2 separate regions of the Homo sapiens genome follow, and region 2 is linked to region 1. The links are contacts of gene promoters, found by promoter capture Hi-C in blood cells and fetal thymus (Javierre and others, 2016). All regions are on one chromosome and are shown on one strand. Each heading gives the region's core, a stretch centred on a gene start or on the middle of the fragment in contact. The rest is flanking DNA. Distances are from core to core; before and after follow the strand shown. Region 1 holds the start of SNAI1 (snail family transcriptional repressor 1). Region 2 overlaps PEDS1-UBE2V1 (PEDS1-UBE2V1 readthrough).

Region 1 (5,743 bases), core at 394-2,893:
ACTTTGGCTTTTACTCTGAGACAGGCGCATGGGAGGGTTTGAGCAGAGGAGGGGGTGATCTGGCCTCACTTTGGCTTCAAGCAAAGGATCCTGATTGGAGCTAAATTGACACGGGACGGGGAGTATTCCGCTTAATGACTGCTTACTGCCTCTGTCCCCCACCCTACTGCCCGCTCTCCAGCTAGAACCAGGGGAGGACGATTTTGTTCACGGCTGTCACACCCGGCACCAAGTGACTAAACAGACAGTAGTTCTGCCCTTCAGGTTGGTGGTGGTGGTGGTGTGGGGTGCTTATAGGTTTTTATAGTCTTCCTTCACAGGTGGAAACAAGAACGGTGAGACCTGTGAGGTTTATTTCAGAGCCACCCCCGGGCCTGGTACGCCTCCCAGGGAAGCTGGGGTGGGGGTGCAGCTGCCCCTCACTTGGGCCCACCCCACATGCATTCAGTCAGGGCCCCTATGGAGCCGTGTTACAGCCTTTAGACACAGGATCGAGGATCTTCACGGGGTGAGGAGACACGCCCGGCCCATGCCTTCTTTCTCCCGCCAGCCTACAGGGATCTTTTTCAACGAAACTCTAACCAGGTCCCTCCTCAGCTGAAAATCCTTCGGTGGCTCCCCAGTGCCCTTGAGGCAAAGTCCAAACTCCTACGAGGCCCTGGGGCCCAGCACATCTGACCCCTCCGGGCATGCCCATCCCACCCCATCCCTGGAAGCTGCTCTCTAGGAGTTACTCTGAAGCAGTTGCCACTTCTTCCCTCGGGCCTTTTCCCTTGATAATTCTTCACTTCCTCTGGGAAGTCACCCCGACCCCCTGTCAGGTGACCCGCCTCTTAACGGTCGCCGCGTCCCGTCTCTCCCCCACCAAAGCACACTTCCCTTTGCATTGTAATTATCTGTTTACTTCGTCTGTCTCCCTCACTGGACCAGAAGCTACCCTTCGGGAGAGGCTCTGAGTGTTCTGTCCGGGGCTGTGCCCTGGCCCCAGGTACAGTGCCCCACACGTGCTGGGCGCTCCGTAAACACTGGATAAGGGAAGGAACGGGTGCTCTTGGCTAGCTGGGCCAGGCTGCTTTGCAAAAAGGCCGTGGCATTTCAAGCCGCCGAGAGCCACGTGCGGTGTCCCTTTCCTCGCTTCCTCCCCAGTGATGTGCGTTTCCCTCGTCAATGCCACGCTCTCCAGGCGCCAGCCGGGCGGAGGAAATTTCCGCCCCCTCCCAAGCCCGAGGCGGGGGCGGGCGTCGGAAGGTCAGGTGTCCCGGCCGGCGCGCAGCGCCAGGGGGCGTCAGAAGCGCTCAGACCACCGGGCGCTGAGCCGGTGGGCGCGCGGCGTCCTGCCGGGGTCCCACCTCGCAGAGGCCTCGCTTCGCTCGACGTCCCGCCCCGGACAGCCCCAGCACCGGGGACGACCCGCGCTGCGCCAGCGAACCCCGCCTCGGAGGAGTCCCCGCCCGGGCTCTCACCGCCACGCGGCGCGAGCCCGGCCAGCAGCCGGCGCACCTGCTCGGGGAGTGGCCTTCGGCGGAGACGAGCCTCCGATTGGCGCGGAGGTGACAAAGGGGCGTGGCAGATAAGGCCCCGCCCCTCCCACCCCCCACCACCCCCCCGGAGTACTTAAGGGAGTTGGCGGCGCTGCTGCATTCATTGCGCCGCGGCACGGCCTAGCGAGTGGTTCTTCTGCGCTACTGCTGCGCGAATCGGCGACCCCAGTGCCTCGACCACTATGCCGCGCTCTTTCCTCGTCAGGAAGCCCTCCGACCCCAATCGGAAGCCTAACTACAGCGAGCTGCAGGACTCTAATCCAGGTGCGTTGGAGGGGTTCTGGGCTCCAGGAGGTTTGGGGGAGACAGGCGAAGGCTGCGTGGGGGGCACCTGAGGGAGGCGGCCTGCCTGAGCCAGGATCGAGTCACAGGATGTTTTGTGGACCATTGCGGGCTCGGGAGACCGGGCAAGTGGGTCCCCAGTTCCGGGGATCTGTCTGGGTGGTTGGGGGAGTGCCGTGTAGAGGGCAGGGGTCTTCAGCTTGGGGGGCCTTTGTAGCCGGCGAGAGGCGGAGGAGCTCCGCAAGAGGGGAAGGAGAGGAGGCCTGTGTCAGGAGGGCCCTCTGGACGCTGCTGGGGAGAGTCCGGAGTCCAGAGGGTTGAGGGGAGGGGTGGGGAGACGAGATGTGTGTGAGGAGGGGGATTGGGGCAGGGTGGTGGCTCCGGGGCTGGGATGATGGGGTTCTGGCCTCAGGCTGGAGACTGGGGACTTAGGAGAGGGAGATCAGGAAATGACCTCCTTCAACTGGGGGTCCTACGTGTGAGAGACTCAGATTGGGTGACCTGGGCGAGGAGGGCAGGAACCTGGTCTGTCCTGTGGATAATTTTTTTGATCTAATTATGTATTGAGAATCGGCCCCACCCAGCCCCTGGCCAGCGGTGGGCTCATGTTTGTTGATTGAGTGAATGATTTAATTAACGCCTGACTCTGCTTTTTCTCCCTCAGAGTTTACCTTCCAGCAGCCCTACGACCAGGCCCACCTGCTGGCAGCCATCCCACCTCCGGAGATCCTCAACCCCACCGCCTCGCTGCCAATGCTCATCTGGGACTCTGTCCTGGCGCCCCAAGCCCAGCCAATTGCCTGGGCCTCCCTTCGGCTCCAGGAGAGTCCCAGGGTGGCAGAGCTGACCTCCCTGTCAGATGAGGACAGTGGGAAAGGCTCCCAGCCCCCCAGCCCACCCTCACCGGCTCCTTCGTCCTTCTCCTCTACTTCAGTCTCTTCCTTGGAGGCCGAGGCCTATGCTGCCTTCCCAGGCTTGGGCCAAGTGCCCAAGCAGCTGGCCCAGCTCTCTGAGGCCAAGGATCTCCAGGCTCGAAAGGCCTTCAACTGCAAATACTGCAACAAGGAATACCTCAGCCTGGGTGCCCTCAAGATGCACATCCGAAGCCACACGCTGCCCTGCGTCTGCGGAACCTGCGGGAAGGCCTTCTCTAGGCCCTGGCTGCTACAAGGCCATGTCCGGACCCACACTGGTACGTGCCCCTCCAGGCGCCCCCACCGTTGCTCTCTCTGGCAGCTTTTGTGAATCTGGGCTTGCTGTTCTCATTCCCAAAGCTGTGGACACTGAGGCCCCGAGTCTTCTAACTTCTAGCTCAAGTTCCAGGGCCTGGCTCTCTGGAAACGTTTGGCAGAAACTTTCTTCATCAGCTAAGCAGATGGGCAAAGCAGACACCTTCCCAATCCCCTGCAGCCTGTTTCTCAGCCAAATGGGTCGGAGCTGGATATGGGAAAGGTGCAACCAACACCTTGCTGTGGGGGCCAGGTGTGAAGGGGCCCACCCGGCCACACCCTCTCCCGGGTCCGCCCCCTCCCTAGCCAGACAGGATGTTGTCAGACCCCCCGCCTGGCTCTGAATCCTTCTTTGAGAACTTTCTCAAAACTTAGGCTGATGTTTCTCTTCTGTGAGCCTCATTTTCTCTATCTTTCAGATGGGCATGAGAACAGCTTTTGGGGTTTCTATACAGGCTAAATGCAGGAATGCATATGGGAAGCACCTGGCAAAGTGCCGGTACCTGCTAAACTCTCACAAAAATGGTTCCTTGGCATTTGCTCTGCTTCCTTGCTGTGTGACTTTGGGCAAGCAACTTAACCTCTCTGAGCCTTAGGGGAAAACTATGATAGCATATGTTTTAGAGAGTGGCTGTAAAGGTGGCTAATCACTTTATAGTAATTTATTATACCCGAACGGTTCTCAGGTCGGCTTCCCCACCCCCACTGAATCCTAGCACACAGACCAGGAAACGGCATCTTTGGGGCAGAAAACACAATCACGTCTTTTGAAAATTTACTAAATGTGTAAAAAACTTTCTGGACATGGAGAAAAGGTAGAACTTTTTAGAACTTGAATGGTGGCAGCCACTGTGCCTGGAGCTGCTCTTTGGAGAGTGACAGTTGAGGGAGAAGATTCCACAGGGTTCAAGCTGGCCAGGTTCTGCCATTTCCTGGCCTGGCGCCTGACCTCTGAGCGGTGAGGGTTAGTGAGGTGTCTGGGAGGACTGGCAATTCGCGGGCTTTATTGGCATCTTATTCGACTAAGGCTACCCATTTCTCTTCCTTCGTGCACCAATTGCTCTGATTTTAACATGTAAAGGTCCAACTGCCTGGCCTCCTGGGTGCCTGCCCAGCTCACAGGGCTCTATTTTGGGACAGTTGAACCCCTCAGGGTGCTGCAGTCCTGCCTGCCTCTCTCACCTCCCATCTGGACATTATTTTAATGTAAAGGCATGGCTGAGACACAGAAATCCCCTTGAAATGTATCATTGCGGTCCTCATTGACTCCCATTGTGTGCCTTAATGGTGGGCCCAGTGGGTGGGGGCTGGGAGGGGTGGAGCAGGTGCATGGGGCAGCGGTGCCCAGCACCTGTTCCAGTCACAGCTGCTGGCCCACTGCATGGCAGGCCCCTTTAATCCGGGGATATCGCATGTACAGTGCCCCCCTCGGCGCCCTTTGTCCCCGCCGGCCTGGTGCCGATTTCACACTTGCCAGGAGTACCATGAAGGCGTCTGGGGGGCGAGGGATCCAAGGAGTGGGGGTCTGTGCCTCCTGCGTGTGCACACAGCCCCCGCCCCCAGCCCATCATGTCCTAGAATGTCTCCTTCCCCTTTTGTTTGGGTTCAGGTCTCATCACACTTTGGGCACTTACTGTACAGGAGGGTAGTGCTCAGGACTTCACCAACAGCCCTGGGAAGGGAAGGGAGGTGCTGTCCTAACTCTGGTCTTACAAATGGACTCCAGCCCCTTTTCCAGATCTCCAGAGTCAGCCCTTAGTTCACAAGGGTGAACTTACCCTTCTCATTCACATGAAGACTTAGAATGCAATCAACAAACCCTTCAGGCGTGGCGTGTGGAGGCTGCTGAGTAATGGCAGAGTGGAGTAGTGCTCAGGCACCCCTCCCCCAATCCTCTATGTCCCCCACCCTTTGGAGTGGCGAGTTTCCATTTCTGCCCCATGAGACTGAGTCCAGCTCTCAGGCGCTCCATAAGTCCCTATTGAATGCATGGGTCCCATTGGAGCCATCCTCTGGACTCTCTCCTACCCTGGTAGCTCAGTGTGGCACCCTAGGCACCCAGGAGGTGATGGAATGAATTCACTCTCAGCTCTTAAATTCCATCCAGCGCTGGGATTTCACAGGCGGGCCCTGACCTTGCGGGCATATCAGACTGGGCGTGAGGGGATTGGAGAATTGCATGTTTTTTAAAAAGACTATTCAGTATTATGGAATAGTGTCTAGCACTTAGTAGGAGCTCAGTAGATTAAAAAAAAAATTATAGACAGGGTCTTGCTTTATCGCCTAGGCTTGTCTCAAACTCCTGGCTTCAAGCAATCCTGCCTCACTCGGCCTCCCAGAGTGATGGGATTACAAGCGTGAGCCACCACACCCAGCCTCAATAGATTTTTGTTTAATGGGTTACTGTTATGACCTTTTATTTGGAAAATGCTGCATCCCCCAGAAAAAAACAAATCAACATTATTGGTGTTTTTGGAACTATATAGCTTTTTGGTTGGAGCAGGGATTGTTATGAGGCATGAGTGAGGGGGCAGACTCCTCTGAGGCCTCTTTAATTTTTAAAACAGACTTATTTATTCTCTAAGGGCTTGTTGAGGATTTACTGGGCACCCAGCTCCATGTGCAAGACTTTTCCCAACACAGCCTTGGCCAGGCAGATGGTGTGTCAGGGCCACAGGTTTCCGTAGCCTC
Region 2 (5,266 bases), core at 1,970-4,469, 110 kb after region 1:
AGGAATGTAAAATGGTGCAGCCACTTTGGGAAACAGTTTGGCATTTCCTCCAAATGTTAAACACAGTTACCATATGATCCAGCAATTCCACTCCTAGGTATACACCCAGGGGAATTCAAAAATGTATCTCCGGCAGGGCGCGATGGCTCACACCTGTAATTCCAGCACTTTGGGAGGCCGAGGTGGGTAGATCATGAGGTCAGGAGTTCAAGACCAGCCTGGCTAAGATGGTGAAACCCCGTCTCTACTAAAAATACAAAATTAGCTGGGCGTGGTGGCGGGTACCTGTAATCCCAGCTACTCGGGAGGCTGAGGCAGAGAATTGCTTGAATCCGGGAGGTGGAGGTTGCAGTGAGCCGAGATTGCGCCACTGCACTCCAGCCTGGGAGACAGAGCGAGACTCCAACTCAAAAAAAAAAAAAAAAAAAAAAAAATAATAATAATAATAATAATAAAATATATATATATAAAATATATTATGTATGTTATATATATAATATATATAGGCTTGGAGGATTTGCTTTTATTTAAATAAAAATATATTATATATTATAATTATATATCTTATATATAATTATATGTAATATATATTACATATCATATATGTTATATAAATATACAGTATATATAATATATAACATATGCATTATATAATATATAATGCATTATATAATATATAATGCATTATATAATATATAATGCATTATATAATATATAATTATATATAATATATGTCCATCTTCAAAGGAGGAAAAATTAGGTAGCTAAAAACAACTATGTCCATCTATTCCAGCAGGTGTAGATAAAAAAATAAAAAGAAAATATATGTCCACATACAAACCTGTATATAAATGTTCCTAGAAGCATTATTTATAATAGCCAAAAGGTAGAAACAACCCAAATGTTCATCAACAAATGGAAAAACAAAATATGGCGTATCTGTACAATGGAATATTATTCAGCCATAAGAAGAATAAAAGTATTGATAGATGCTACAATATGCTTGAACCTTGAAAAAATTATGCTGAGTAAAGGAAGCCAGTCACAAAAGGCCACATACTGTAGAATTCCATTTATAATAGATGTTCAGAAAAAGCAAATTCATTGAGCTAGAAAGTAGACTGATGATTGTCAAAGATGGGAAATGGGGGATGTGGGAGGGAGAATGGGGGGTGCCTACCGATGGGTATGGGTTCCTTTTTGAGGTGATGAAAACGTTCTGAAATTAGTGACGGATGCACAACTCTGAATGTAAGACCACCGAACTGTATATTTAAAAGGGTGAATTCTATCCCAATAAAGCTGTTACCAAAAACAAATACATGGAGGACTCCTGGCATACCGTAGCTACGCATTACAACTTCCAAAGCCTCTTTTGGAAAGAGATAAACTGAAATTCAGGGTAGCCCAAGCTGTTTTAGGCAGACAGAATATTTTCAGCAGAATTTACTGATGCATTGTTTTGTGTGTTTTTTTGAAAGTGTACAATTCAGTGGTATTTAGTGTATCGCAATGTTGTACATTGGTTCAATTCTCAGTATTTTAGAACCTGTAAATCAGTAAGTTGATTAACAAATCTACTGAGTACCCCATTCTGAGTCATTTCTAGGTATTCTGGGAAGTAAGGAGGGAAGCACAGTTCTCATCCTCAAGAAACCGAAATCATTCTTAGGAAGAGAAGACATGCAGTGAAGAAGATGTCAGCATATGATGGACCTTCAGAGACAGCAAAGAAAATTATCTCCATGGAGAAACAGGATTTCTAGATTGGGTTTTCCCCGGTATTTAGCAGACGCAGAAAATTCTGGTTTTCACAGGAAAAAAAGGATAAAGAAATGAGTAAAAACAGATCAAATGTATATATTTTTAAAACTCCACAAAACTATAGGGTCACAAAATGACTTAAGAAGCAACATTAAATGGCAAAGCCAATCATTCACCATGAGTGTTGATGACCATCTGAAATGAGCATTAGTGTCCTAACACTTAACGAACATGTCACTTGTCCCTGTTCCAGCCCGGGCCACGCCCTACATGTCTTTCTGCTCTCACAGTGCTAGTGCAGAGTCCTGCACACAATCAAAAGAATGAATGTTGTCATCATCCTTAAACACAAGCAGACACAGGACAGGTCTTGCTACATTCAGGCAGAGGCCCTTACTGCTTGTCTGAAGTGTGTGTCACAGTATGGAAATCAATTTCTTGACTCCTACATCAAGTTACTACTTGATTAGTATCTTCTATAATGGTAACAGATGAAAACTCAAAATGTAAACAAAAGGGAGACACCACAGCACAGTGGTTAAGAGCACAGGCTCTGGAGTCAGATCTGGTTTGGGGGTTACCAGCTATGTGACTTTGGGCAAGAGATCTGACTCCTCTGAGTCTGTCTCCTCATCTGTGAAATGGAATGCAATTGCACCTAACAATGGGGTCTTGTGAGAGTTAAGAGACATTTCTTGAGGGTTTACTATGTGTCCTCAAAAAACGGTTGGCTGGCATTATGAAGACTGGGAACTCTCACAAATCAGGAAGGTCTGAAAGAGGCCACTTTTCCCCATCCTCATTGTCTTCGTCTTCTTTGCAAAGGCCTCTGGGTCTAGTAGTGCCTGGAATAGACCAGGAGCTGACAGGCTTGCCAGGGACCTTTGCTGAATGGCCCAAGGAACTAGGATACAGGTGCACGGCAGACCTGGGAGACAGTGAAGAAAAACCACAACTGGGAAGGCTTTCCAGAGTTAATTTGGAGACTGGCTTCAGGAATGCTGGCTATACCTAGGGCCTAGTTATTTGGTTAGCCCAGAGATTGTTCTGAACGACATCTGATGGTGCAATGACTTCACACCTCACTGTCTACATTGTCATATAAATTCACACTATGAGTCTAAACAGGTTTTTGCTTACCATTTAGAGGGGTTAAACAGCATCAGAGGAGGTTCAAATATATAAACTGAAACTGGTCAAAAAAGAATAGCCACATTTCAGAAAATATACCATTGGTGAGCTTTTTTTCCGTGATAAGGCTAATATTTTTTAAAAGGAGGCACAGTGAATTTAAGACATTGACATTTATAGCCGTAGCTCGACGCTTACTCTTGGAGGCCCAATTATCATCCCTGTCCATCTTGTAAGTGTCATGTCTTCGTCATCTTCTAGACCCCAGCTAACTGTGCCATCTCCTACTCCTTTCTGGCCTTCTTCGAGTTCTTCCAACAGTCGGAAATTGCGAGGGACTTTTACTCCTAAAATAAATGGAAAGAAATTCAAGATACCAGCAACTCCAGGGGAACTTGTAAGCCTAGAGCTAGCTGCTCATTATCTCTCCCTGGGAATCAAGATGCTAACATGCAAAAAAATCACGGAAAGTTATCACACCTCAAACTTGCTACTTATAAAGCTATCAGTATCAACCAGCACAACCAGAGGGAAGGGGCACATGGTTCTCTGACAGGTGAAGTGACTAGGGCTAGATAACCAAACTTAGAAAGATACCCCACCCCTACCCCTTGGACAAACCTCCTAAGGGGCTTACATGTCTAAATGTCTATGAATTGGGGTCAACTAGTATGAGATGAAAACCATCAATATCAGGTGCTAACAAAAGTACCTTGGAAGACAAGAGGCTAAGACTACGCTTATTTGTTGGCATGACTCTCAAACAACCTTTAGGAGGAATAGTCACCATGGATATGGGAAATAAAAATGGTATCCTCTTAATCAACTAAGAGTCAACTGAAGGCACCAAGGATAAAATATTCTATTGTTTTTCAATTATTTAAGTGATAGTTTCTCTTTTAACTTACAAAAAAGCTAAAAGGGAATAGCTGGTTCTCAATTGTTTTCCAAAAATCCCAAAGCCTGGCAAGTAGCTCTTGAAAGCAACGCATGAAAACACCTCACAGGTTCAAGCCACAGTACCGGGTTCAGGCTGAGGCTTGAGCCATTTCTAGGTGTCTTCCAGAACAGAACCTAGGTACTGGGGCCAGACAAGGGAGGGGGCTATGGGAGGAGAGAGAGATGGACTTTCCTTCTGTGCTTGGGGAACAAATCATCTCTCCTAGGGTTGCACTCCCAACCAATCCTGACTGTCTCTCCTTCCTCCATTTTCCCTGGCATATGCACTATTTTCTCTGGAAAAAACTCAGGATCCAGTCAAGTTTCAAGTTCTCTGCCTTGAATGCTGAGCTCTCAATTGGCCAGACTCTCAGAGACAAACAGGACTAACCATGTGACTGTGAAGAGAGGCTCACTGGAGGGACCCCAGATTGTGGGAGGTGTTGCCAGTATATGTATTTCCCAAAGTGTAGGACACACGCCATTAATTCAATTGGAATAAATATTTGAGTACTTAGTATACATCGGGGACTTTTCTAAGCACTGAAGAACAAGCAGTGAATAAAACAAAAATGCCTGCAGCTTACATTCTAGTAGAAGACATATAATGGACAAAAATGAATATGTAAATTATACAGTATGACAGATCCTGGTGTTCCGGAGGAGGGAGTAATACGGGAGGGGCTATACTTTTAAATGGAGGGATAAAGGAAAAGTGTTATTGCAATCAGGTGTCATAACTAAAGACCTAAAGAAGGTGAGAGGGCATGATTTATGGATAGCTGAGGAGAAAGTCTTTGAGACAGAGCAAACAAGTGCAAAGGCCCTAAAATAGAGGCTGCTTAGGGTGTCAAAGGACAGCAAGGAGGCCAATTTAGCTCAAACCAAGTGAGGAAGATGAGAGAGCAAGAGGAGATTAAGGATGCCAACTGTTACTGAGTGACATGATCTGTCTTGTTTTTAATAGGATCCCTCAGACTGCTGTGTGAGGATGAGAGTGAAGGGAGCAAGGGCAGAAGCAGCTAGGAGGCTACTGCAATAATCCTAGCAAAAGATAATACCCGTTTGGACCAGGGTGATAGCAGGAAAGTAGTGAGGAGTGGCGTAATTCTAGGCATTTCAGAGGTCTGAGCTGTGGAGATTTGCTATCAGGTTGCCTGTGAGGTGTGAGAGACAAGAGTCAACTACAGCTCCCAGGTTTTTGGTCCAAGCAACTGAAGGACAGAGTTGGTAGTGGTATGTTAGAGGACTTTCGGTGGTATGTGATTGAACACTTCGTTTTACAGTCACGTATTTATGTTTAAGAATAACTTATTTAGGGTAAGTAATATACTAACTTCCCATTTATAATAATGGTAAAAGTTTCCTTTAAAATAAATGTAAGCAAAAGAGTCAGTTGATTACAAGAAAAATATTAAATAGTACTACATAT

The links. The method cuts DNA at HindIII sites, captures the fragments that hold promoters and counts their contacts. A CHiCAGO score of 5 or more calls a contact.
Region 2: a fragment that was not itself captured here is called in contact with the fragment with the promoter of SNAI1 in region 1 in 2 of 17 cell types (monocytes and naive B cells); the score reaches 7.5 in monocytes.

What each region holds. Positions count from the first base shown.
Region 1 is chr20:49,981,337-49,987,079 of GRCh38, forward strand. SNAI1 (snail family transcriptional repressor 1) reads left to right here and starts at 1,644. Exons shown (of 3, transcript NM_005985.4): 1 at 1,644-1,805; 2 at 2,488-3,015. The coding sequence starts at 1,724. RefSeq lists an enhancer at 49-986 and a silencer at 1,139-1,658. The HindIII fragment of the contact is 8,892 bases long and covers 1-5,743 here.
Region 2 is chr20:50,093,579-50,098,844 of GRCh38, forward strand. PEDS1-UBE2V1 (PEDS1-UBE2V1 readthrough) reads right to left here. Exons shown (of 8, transcript NM_199203.3): 6 at 3,094-3,242. It overlaps UBE2V1 (ubiquitin conjugating enzyme E2 V1), which reads right to left. Exons shown (of 4, transcript NM_001032288.3): 2 at 3,094-3,242. Among named protein-coding and RNA genes, the nearest start is that of UBE2V1, 17 kb to the right of the region's middle. The HindIII fragment of the contact is 8,180 bases long and covers 1-5,266 here.